Linked DNA regions of Homo sapiens: region 2 is linked to region 1. The links are contacts of gene promoters, found by promoter capture Hi-C in blood cells and fetal thymus (Javierre and others, 2016). All regions are on one chromosome and are shown on one strand. Each heading gives the region's core, a stretch centred on a gene start or on the middle of the fragment in contact. The rest is flanking DNA. Distances are from core to core; before and after follow the strand shown.

Region 1 (5,016 bases), core at 1,956-4,455:
TCAACAGCTGAGGTACATTCTGTATCACTCTGCAGGCCAGCCTGGGCCAAGCAATTTTGCAATTCTGCTTCTGGAGCCCGATACCCGTCTGTCTGAATATACTTTACATCCTAAAAAAGATGAGTAAATATTACAACCAATAAAAAAGCTGCTCCCTTTCTATCCATCTCTACAGTGAATTTACTTCCCTAAGAGTGCAGTAAACCCACTGCCAAGCTAAATGCTAAAAATTTTTAGTCCTTGATTACCATAATTCTTTGGTTCATTAACTGGGCAGTTCTCAGAGGCAAGCTGTACATTTCCATATAGCGCTCATAAAGAAGTCTTCTTTGGATTGTCTCTTACCTATTAGGCACTGCTGATAATAAGGACACTGCAAAGAAATGATAAACCATGGAGAAAAGAGGATTTGGCAGAACTATCATATGCATTCTGCCACGAGATACAGCCCCAACACTGAAGAGACCAGGAATAGTAACTCAGCAATTAGCCAAACACGCATAAAATTTAAAAAACCATTCTATGTAGGTTAAGTACTTTTAATAATTCCAGAGCTCTCATGCTTCACTGGCTCCTCCTACCTGACCCAAACATTATGTCCTTTTTTTACACGGTGGCACTGAAATTCTTTTGATTTACTGCATCCCCTGGCATTTCAGTAATTTAGGTTAAAATGACTTGTAAGCCCCTACTAAACTACCCTTGTCATTTAAAAATATTTGGCTTCAACCACTACATTTTAAACTGCGAGAGAAAAGAAAAGGTTATTTCTTACCTGATTGCCTTCTTTGAAGCTAAGTCCAAAGTCAATGAGTTTAAAACATTCATTCTCTGCACTCCACAATATGTTACGTGGTTTGAGGTCCGCATGGACATAGCCCTCATGATGAAGAAAAGCAAGGGCCTCCAAAACATCTCGGGCACAATGCTGTATCATCCACATGGAACAACCCTGGTGACTGGAATATAAGAGCAATTCCGAAACACTGACATCCAGGAGTTCAAGCAACAGACAGCGTGATGGCACATTTGGAGAAAAGTGGATTGTAAACACTCCATACAAAGTCACTAGAAAAAGAAATTATAATACTTTAAAAATCAGACTCAGAGTAAGTCACTACTAAAGTAGGTAACTGCAGTACAAATTTGAGATAGTCTAGATAAGGATAACTTTGATGAGCAAGCTTCCACTGTAATTTATTTTTCCCATGAATAAGATCTTTTGGCAATTGGGTTATTTTAATAAAAATAAGATGAGACAGCCTACAACAGCTGATTACCATTCACAGATACTAAATATGGTACAATTATTCAATTTGTGTTTCACCAAGTACTCATTGGTGATGAACACGAACTTGGAGTGCCAAGCAAAAATGATTAAAAGTAAAAAACCTAAATATAAATAAATAAAACTTACTGTTGCATCATGAGGTCCTTTAAAAAAAAAGAAATTTTTAAAAGTAAAAACCCAAATATTAAGTAACTCTTTTAAAAGGAATGTCACAATGCGCAAAAACCAAACTAAACATTGCTTCTTCATCCAAAACAGCAGTCTAGGTCTGCCACGGTGGCTCATGCCCGTGATCCCAGCATTCTGAGAGACCGAGGCAGGAGGACTGCTTGAGCCCAGGAGTTTGGAGACCAGCCTGGGTAACAAAAGGGGACCTCTTCTCTACAAAAAATTAGCCAGGCTTGGTGCTACGTGCCTGTAGTCCCAGCTACCTGGGAGGCTGAGGTAGGAGCATGGCTTTAGGAGGAATTGGAGGCTGGAGTGAACTGTGATCTCGCCATTGTACTCCAGCCTGGGTGACAGAGTAAGAACTTGTCTCAAAAAAAAAAACTAAAACAAAAATAAACAGCTCTCTATAATCTAAATACTAACAAAGAGATTAAGACTTTTCGGATGAAATTTTAATCTTGCAGAGATCAGGCAAGTCCCTAGGCTTGCAAAATTTTTCCCTTTTCAATACCAAGGTTATAGTAACAGACCATTTAGTAAACTAAAAAAATGTAGCACTAGTGTTAATTCTTCTCCAAAATGATATTATAAAAAAACTCACTCTTCAAATTAACTATGCATCATACTTGCTAGGAAATAAGACTTTTCTTTAATAACCAAAGCTATAACTAATGATAAGCTTTCTGTCGTGTAATGAAAATGAAACCTTTTCACAGATCAATCATCAGTGATCATTACATATCTTACATTCTGAGTATCTGATTCTTGAAACAGTCTCAAGAGAGCAAAGGTATAGTGTTCCTAAATTTCACACTTCTATAAAGGCTCCCATGGAATAGTGCATCATTTCTTCCAAATCCGTACTAAAGATATAATAGGTGAGCTATACGAGTTACTAGCATTGATGTCACAAGGCCCAGACGTAGTTCCCATTTTCTACTGGTATGCAAAGATTCAAAAATTTCCACACAAGACACGACAATCTAGCAAAGACATGCCTCCTCTCACTAGAAAAGATATTTCTGTATGCTAATGAATGCGGCATTCTCCGATGAGACTCGAAGCAAGACAATTTACTGAGCATCTATGTGACACCTGGCAAAGCAGACCACCAACTCCACTATACCGCAGACAGTAATAAAGTGAAAGGGGAAAGGGGCCTGGATGGGGTGATAAAGAGGGCTAAACCCGCTTCTCCCGCAGAAGGGGAGGAAGATGGAACGCCAGACAGCGAGAGGAAGAGTGTGCTCGGACTGTGACCTGGGCAAGAAGAGAAAGGAGACAGCGGCAATTACCGATGTTTCTGTGACCCTGCAACTGTTCCAGCGCCGCCCTCTCTTTGCGGAAACCATACTCGGCGGCAGAGGCCGCAGCCCCGGTGGTTCCTGGCGGCAAGAACTGCTTGAGGGCGCCGGGGGGCGAGCCAGGGTTGCCGCAGCAGCGAACCCGATACACCGAGGCGGAGGAGCCGCTACCCAGACGGCTCTGTACCTGCCACAGCCGCCCGAAGGCCTCCAGAAAACGCGGCGGCTCCGCGCCCCAGGCGCAGCCGGATCCCGCCATCGGTGTGGGTTAAGGGCACGGACACGGGAGCTGACGCGACGCCTGAGGCAGGCCGGCCGGGCCCGCGGTCACATCTCCGCCAGCCGGACCAGCGGCTCCGCAGGGAGGGACCTGCAGCCGCCTCACCGACTCCCGGGACTTCAAGCAGCCATGACACCGGAAGCCGTGGTGCACCCGAGTCCCAGAAGCCGGAAATGGAGGAAGAGCCTATCATACAGGCCGAAGGAGGGGGGGCTCAGAAGGGGCGGGGCCTAGAAGAGATTAGACGCGCTAGGTTTGGAAAAAAGAACCGAGAATAAGAAGTAACCTTAATTATTGAGTATCTACCATTCCAGGCCCAGTGTTAACCGCTTTCACATAGACCTGAAGCCAAAACTGGTCCTTTTTCTTGTTGAGGCACCTCACCTTACCTCACCACTAGGAACCCGAAAAATAAAACCCGGCCTACATTTCTCATAGAAAGGATCCCAAGGAAAACACCCCAGGAACAAAAAGAGAGTTTACCATCACCTCCAGGTCCACGGTCACCAGAACCCATGATTCTGGAAGCCTAGACCTTTGTTCTTCTTTTAGATGTAAACCGAAAATACAATTCTAAGCCCCCCGTGTCGCCAACCATCGGAATGGACTTTCTCCCAGGCCAGGGCACTCTAAAATTCTGGTTCAGTCCATGACGGGAAGTGGGGGTCCGACTAGCCTCATACCTCTCCGGTTAAGGTCAACACAGACCTTCGGTCTGGTAAGAAACATTTACAATCTATTTTCTTGGAAGCCTGGTACCTGGAGGCTTCATCTGCATGACAAAACTTTGGTCTCCACAAGTTCTTATGACAACCCAGACATTCCTTTCTATTGATAACTCTTTCAACCAATTGCCAATTAGAAAAATTTTAAATCTACCTATAACCTGGAAGGACCCATTTCTCCCCCCACCAATTCCCGCTTCGAGTTTTCCCACCTTTCTGGGCCAAATCAATGTATTTCTTAAATATATTTGATTGAAGTCTCATGTCTCCCAAAATGTATAAAACCAAGCTGCACCCCAACCACCTTGGGTACATGTTCTCAGGATCTCCTGAGGGCTGTGTCACAGACCATGGTCACTCATAGTTGGCTCAGAATAAATCTCTTCAAATATTTTACAGAGTTTAACTCTTTTTATCAACATAGTCCACCTTGCCTATGGCTCCCTCATCAAAAAGCATTCACCCTGGGCAAACACGGATCTGTTCCAAATTTTTATTTTTCATTTATTTATTCAATTATTTTATTCATTCAGCAAACGTTTATTGAGTAACAAATGTAGCAAATAGGCATCTCAATCCACAAACTCGAGTGTGTAAGAAATGTAGCCTTCTTTACTTTTCAGTCATTCAACCTTTTCTATTTCAAGATCTATTCTGATTGTGTGGCAAAAACTTAGTATCAGACAATAGGCCCTATCTTCTTTTCTTCAGGTTTTGTGTAAGTTCCCAGCCAGATGAGATGGTTCATGTAGTGCTAAGTGGAAAGTTTGAGGAGAGGTTGAGGACTAAACTCTGACCTGTCTTCTCTCTTGCTCAATTTTTTTTTTTTTTTTTTTTTTTTTTGGTAAGACGGAGTTTCGCTCTTGTTGCCCAGGCTGGGGTGCAATGGCATGATCTCGGCATCTCCGCCCACCGCAACCTCCTCCTCCTGGGGTCCAGCGATTCTCCTGCCTCAGCCTCCCAAGTAGCTGGAATTACAGGAATTTGCCACCATGCCAGCTAATTTTGTATTTTTAGTAGAGATGAAGTTTCTCCATGTTGGTCAGGCTGGTCTCGAACTCCTGCCCTTGTGATCCGCCTGCCTCACCTTCCCAAAGTGCTGGGATTACAAGCGTGAGCCACTGCACCTGGCCCCAAATTCTTATCTAAGGGATGTGAGGAGTCACAGCCTACAAACCATAAAATCTCATCAGATTGTCAGAGGTGTTCAAACCAGAGCAACTCCATCTTGAATAGGAGCTGGGTAAA
Region 2 (5,481 bases), core at 1,589-4,088, 470 kb after region 1:
GGTCAAAGACACAATCAAAGACAAGAAGTGAGGGAAGAGTAGCACCAGAAAGGTCCTCTCTCCTATTTGTTTCTTTTATCAGGAAGCAAAATATCTTGTCCGGGTGGTTACCCCTAGCTGTAAAGGAGACTGGGAAATTGAATGTCTGGCACAGGGGTAGCTGGGACTTGCTTAAATCAATTATGACTAGGTCAAAAAGCCAATGCTGTAAGAATAATGGAGTGGAAAATGGAAAGAGCTTGGGTCCTCGCTGACATCACTGAGTTGCTGAATTAAATTTTAAACAGCCAAGCTTGTCTTCTTAGAGTGGGATAATAAATGTATATTTGACTGAGACATTCCTAGAAGGATTTTCTATCACTTGCAGTCAAATGCACCCTAATGGATACAGAGATGGTATTTATAAAGGTAACTGAGCCTACACCCAGTTGGACAATTCGTAATTTCCATTCATTCAACCAATATTTATTTAGTGTCCACTTTGTTCTAGGCACTGGTTAAACTCTGAAGATGTAATGGTGAGCAAAACTAACAAGGTCCTTGCCCTCTTGAATTTATAGTCTGGTGGGGAAGACAGGCACCCCCAAAACAACCCACAAAGGAGGAATATAAATATCCATCTCTCCTGCTTCTATGAAAAAGAGGTACATGGTATTATGGGAGCATTTAATAGAGAAATTATGCTGGTGGTGGAGTCAAGGAAGGCTGCCCTGAGAAGTGAGCAGCCATCTGAAATATGAATATGCACATTCAGGATTATGTCTTTGCCCAGAATGCTCTCTTTCTCTCCCCTGCCATGGCCCCCCCTCCCATCATGTTGCCTTATCCACTGTTTTGTTGAAACCTCCCATCATCCCAGTCATCTTCAGTATCATGCTTTCATGAAATCCACACTGACCTTTCCACTAGAAGTGACCTATTCCTTATTTAAACCCCATGAGATATGTTCTTACTCTGCCTCACAATTTCAGTGCTTGTTCTGCTTACCTCCTGACTCCCACGCCCACTTTGTAAGATGTGGACTATCTCATCTTCCCATTAAATGTCTAGCAACCTAGCTTGTTGTCTTGCACTTAATCAACATTCAATGCTTACTGTAATTGATTTTTTTTTTTTTTTTGAGACCAAGTATTGCTCTGTAGCCCAGGCTATAGTGCAGTGGCGGATCTCGGCTCACTGTAACCTCTGCCTCCAGGGTTCAAGCGATTCTTCTGCCTCAGCCTCTAGAGTAGCTGGGATTACAGGTGCATGCCACCAGGCTAGGCTAATTTTTGTATTTTCAGTAGAGATTACAGGGGTGAGCCACCACACTCCGCCCCTTAACTGAATTTTAAAACTACACTTTATCGGTGGGGCACAGTGGCTCACCCCTGTAATCCCAGTGCTTTGGGAGGGCAAGGCGGATGGATGGCTTGAGGCCAGGAGGTCGAGACCAGCCTGGCAACACGGCGAAACCCCAACTCTAGTAAAAATACAAAAAATTAAACGGGCATGGTGGCGTGCGCCTGTAATCCCAGGTACTCTGAAGGTCGAGGCACGAGAATCACTTGAACCCAGGAGGCGGAGGTTGCAGTGAGCCAAGATCATCCCGCCACTGCACTCCAGCCTGGGTGGCAGAGCAAGACTCTGTCTCAAACAAACAATCAAATACACCACATTTTATCAATGTTTACCCCCATATAGTTTCAGAAAAGATTTGATAGCTTACACAGAGGAGGGTGTGTGCATGATGTCCCCACAAACCTAGACACCCAGAGCATTGAATTTTTGTCCATAAACTGAATTTTTTGAAGATTAAAATATACTAATAAGGGTTATTATTATACTTATGTCAACTATTACTTATATGCGCTAGTTTCCTTAGTTTATTACAACCCTTATTCCTCAGCATAAGAAGCAAGGTGTTTGAATTTCCCAAGGGTGCATAATATCCTTTGAAGGGGCCTGGCTCTGTTCAATATTCCGAGTGACAGTTGTCCAGGATGGCACAGTGCCCTTCCTTAAATTCACATATTGGTAATCTTCACTGTAGGTTTATAAAAGGTTGTCCTCAGTAATTGAGGGACATAGTAACATAATTGCACACTATTGAAAGTGGACTCCCTCTTAGAGATAATCTGGTAACAGAGACCCGGAGATTTGTCCCAAACCAGGAAGACAGGAAGAGCTGTTCCCTTTGGTAATCATTTATCAGGCAGTAGCTTTCCCCATGGGGACTCGCGGAGAGTGTCGGAGATGTACAGTCATTCCCCTAACTTTCAACGTTTACACAACTCAGGACACACTCTAGGAAGGAATTCAATGATTTTCCTCTGGGTGGAGGTATTACTAGGTTCTAAAGCCGTGGCAGGCAAGCAGCTACCAACGGCGCTAAGTTCAAAGCTGCCCGAGAACTCGCCCAGAGTTAAGTCAGGGAAAAGAAACGCCTGGGAACAAACGCGCCTTCTCCCCTGCCCCAGGTGTGCTAAAGGACGATGCCGCAGATCCCTAACTAGCTCAGCCTTGGAGCGAGCGCTGGGTGCCTGCGATGGAAAGTCGCTCTTCTCGCCAAGAATGGTCGAACCCCAAAACTTCAGGGACGCCGCTCGGAGTAACTTCTCTTCACTCACTTGCGATCAGATGAGAAGAAAGTAAAGCCCTTCCAACGTCACCCTCAGCCGGCGCGCGGCAGCTGAGTCCCAGCGGGGACGGGGTCCGCCGGGTACCCCTCCGCCCGAGCCCTGTGCGCTTCCAGGTCCTCCTCCTCCGCGCGGTCACTGGCTGCATCTCCGCCGCCCCGGCACAATAGAGGCTCCGCCCTCCTTCCGCGCGAGCTCTCCGCGGCTCCCTAGCCCAGCAGCCCTCGCCCAGCAGCCCGCGCCGCCACCGCCTCTTCCCTCCCCGTGTCCGGTCCCCGTGCGTCCCGAGGCTCCCCGCCGCCCGTCCCGGCGCGCACCGCGGGCGTCTGTCCGAACGCCTTCCAGCCACCTGAGCCCTCCTGCGGGCGACTCGCTCAGCTAGCCCGTGCCCGCCTCCACCTTCTCCGTCATCCCCTCTTCCTTGCGTCCGGCTCTCCACTGGGGCTGCACAGTCGAGGGCTGCTCGCGTCGGGAAGGAGATGCCCAGAGTCTCTGGGGCGCACCCTCCCGTCCCGCTCAGCCGCACCCAGCTTTAGAAGGTGCTCTCAGCAGCCACTTTCGGGCTCTAGCGAGGACACCCTCTCGCAGAAGTCCTTGCCGAGACCCCCCGCCCCAGCCATTCTCTGAAGGGGCTGAGGACACTCTTATCGCGCCCCTCATGGCCAAGCCTCGGCTGCTAGTTCTCTACTTCGCTCTGATTGTGGTTCCGGCCTGGGTGTCCAGCATTGTCCTCACAGGGACAAGCGAGCCCCCAGATGCGCAGACAGTGGCGCCTGCGGAGGACGAGACTCTGCAAAACGAGGCGGACAACCAGGAGAACGTTTTATCTCAGGTAGGATGCAGAGTGCCACGACCGCCCTTCTTGCCCTGGATGGTGGTGAGAGCCAGAAGCTGGTCCTTGCTGAAGTGTTTGAGGGCAGCTGTTTTTCCTTCCATTACCAATGGAAAGGGCTTTTGATTTTTCATGTATCGGAATATTTTCTTAATGGAAGGATATAGGTTCTCCTCGCAAAATCATAGGGTGCTTAAAGGTCATCAAATCAGGAGAAAGGAGAGGTGAAGGAAGGGAAGATGCCGCTCGACTTCTTGAGAAGAAAGAAAACAAAGTTGTTTTTGGTTTCAGGGTTGTAAAAAGTATCTCTTGTCTATGTGGCTGTCTGTCAGAATTGGAATGTGAAAACAGCCGGATATGTTGACCAGGAGGCAGATGGCATATCCCATCGGGAGATACTTTATGGCAGAGGGTGGGACACCAGGCGGGAGCATGGGGTGAAGTCAGAACAGAAGCATGTGTGATGAATGTGAGGTGACCCCCAAACAGAGAGACTGAGAACATGACGGAGTGTACTGGGAGGGGAGAGTGGGAATGCAGATGCAGGCAGCTAGGGCAGACTGTCAGTGGGGGCCCGAGTAACCCATGATAGTGATGGGCTTCGTAAAGTGTCCGTTTACCAAGTACTTAAACTTGTTTTTTCTGACTCAATCTTCAAAACACCCTAATACCCATTTATAGATAAAGACCATAAGAGATACATGGGTAGGCCGGGCGCGGTGGCTCACGCCTGTAATCCCAGCACTTTGGGAGGCCGAGGCGGGCAGATCACGAGGTCAGGAGTTCAAGAGCAGCCTGGCCAATATGATGAAACCCCATCTCTACTAAAAATACCAAAATTAGCCAGGCGTGGTGGCAGGCACCTGTAGTCCCAGCTACTCAGGAGGCTGAGGCAGGAGAATCGCTTGAACCCGGGAGGTGGAGGTTGCAGTAAGCGGAGATCGCGCCACTGCACTCCATCCTGAGTGACAGAGTGAGACTCCGTCTCAAAAAAAAAAAAAAAAAAAAAAAAGAAGAGATACATGGGTAGAGCCAGGGCGTCTGACAGTCTTCAGCCCAGATCTCATGTCTGTAAGGGGTAGTTCTCTCTGGAGTGTTTATTTTGTGCTCTCCAGAGCCGGCATGATGACGTGTGGTGGGTGTCACCAGAATCCTCAGAATGGGGGATGTCTGAAAAAGGATCCTCCAGGGCTGCCTGTACCTTCACCTCCACCAAGCCCTAGGACTGGGCCTTGTCTCCTTCCTGTAGAGAGAATAATCAGCTGCACTTTGGGATTTATCAAACACTAGCCTCCTCACTCTTCCTTTAATAATGATGCTAATGTATGCCCTCTGCCCCCCCATTACCTCCCACTGACCCCTAAATCGAAAAGACATAAAAATCTCTCACACTGGGGCTCTGGAACACTATCAACAAAAACTTTCCTGAAACCCGAGCCTCCTGTAAGGAAGGAATCCACCCAGGGTTCTCAGAGCAGGGTTATGTAGGAATCCAGGCAGAGTTTCAGAGAGCAGACAGCCACAATTTACTATCAGCCCGTAAAGAACAGCCGCTTAAGTCACCCTTAACTACACCACCTTCTTCCACTGATCCATTCTGTGTTTGACAACAGCCCTAAAGCAAATATTAGTATTAGAAGAAACCCAATCTTTGCAAGGAAAACATTACAAGTCTTCTTCCCCCAGACAGCATCCCAAGGAACATTTCTACTCAAACAAGCTCAATGCTTGCCCACTGAAATCATTAATCAAATGAAGGGAACCCTTCTGCCTGCCTAGGAAGGGAGCCCTGGCTTTGGGGATGTAGGGCCTTTTGGAGAGGATTGGGAGAGAAGAGCCTTTTCCCAGCAAGCGCCCAGAGTTGGGGCTCCAGAAAGCCTACTGTCGCGTGTTTTCCTGCCTGGGGAGGCTGGCAGGGGCAAGTGCCCAGAAGGAAATGTTTAGCATTGCAAAAGCAGCAAGTGCTGCCAGTTTGCTTTCCTGGGTTTGGCCTGGGGTTTAGGTTCAGAAGCATGAACTCTTAGACTGAGT

Evidence for each region. The method cuts DNA at HindIII sites, captures the fragments that hold promoters and counts their contacts. A CHiCAGO score of 5 or more calls a contact.
Region 2: the fragment with the promoter of OLFML2B here is called in contact with the fragment with the promoter of UHMK1 in region 1 in 3 of 17 cell types (M2 macrophages, M0 macrophages and M1 macrophages); the score reaches 5.8 in M2 macrophages.

What each region holds. Positions count from the first base shown.
Region 1 is chr1:162,496,007-162,501,022 of GRCh38, reverse strand. It overlaps UHMK1 (U2AF homology motif kinase 1), which reads right to left and starts at 3,205. Exons shown (of 8, transcript NM_175866.5): 1 at 2,755-3,205; 2 at 776-1,068; 3 at 1-110. The coding sequence starts at 3,022. RefSeq lists enhancers at 2,468-2,968, 3,155-3,234, 2,969-3,469. The HindIII fragment of the contact is 6,861 bases long and covers 2,141-5,016 here.
Region 2 is chr1:162,021,226-162,026,706 of GRCh38, reverse strand. OLFML2B (olfactomedin like 2B) reads left to right here and starts at 2,838. Exons shown (of 8, transcript NM_015441.3): 1 at 2,838-3,450. The coding sequence starts at 3,277. RefSeq lists silencers at 2,214-2,508, 2,577-2,726. The HindIII fragment of the contact is 12,162 bases long and covers 295-5,481 here.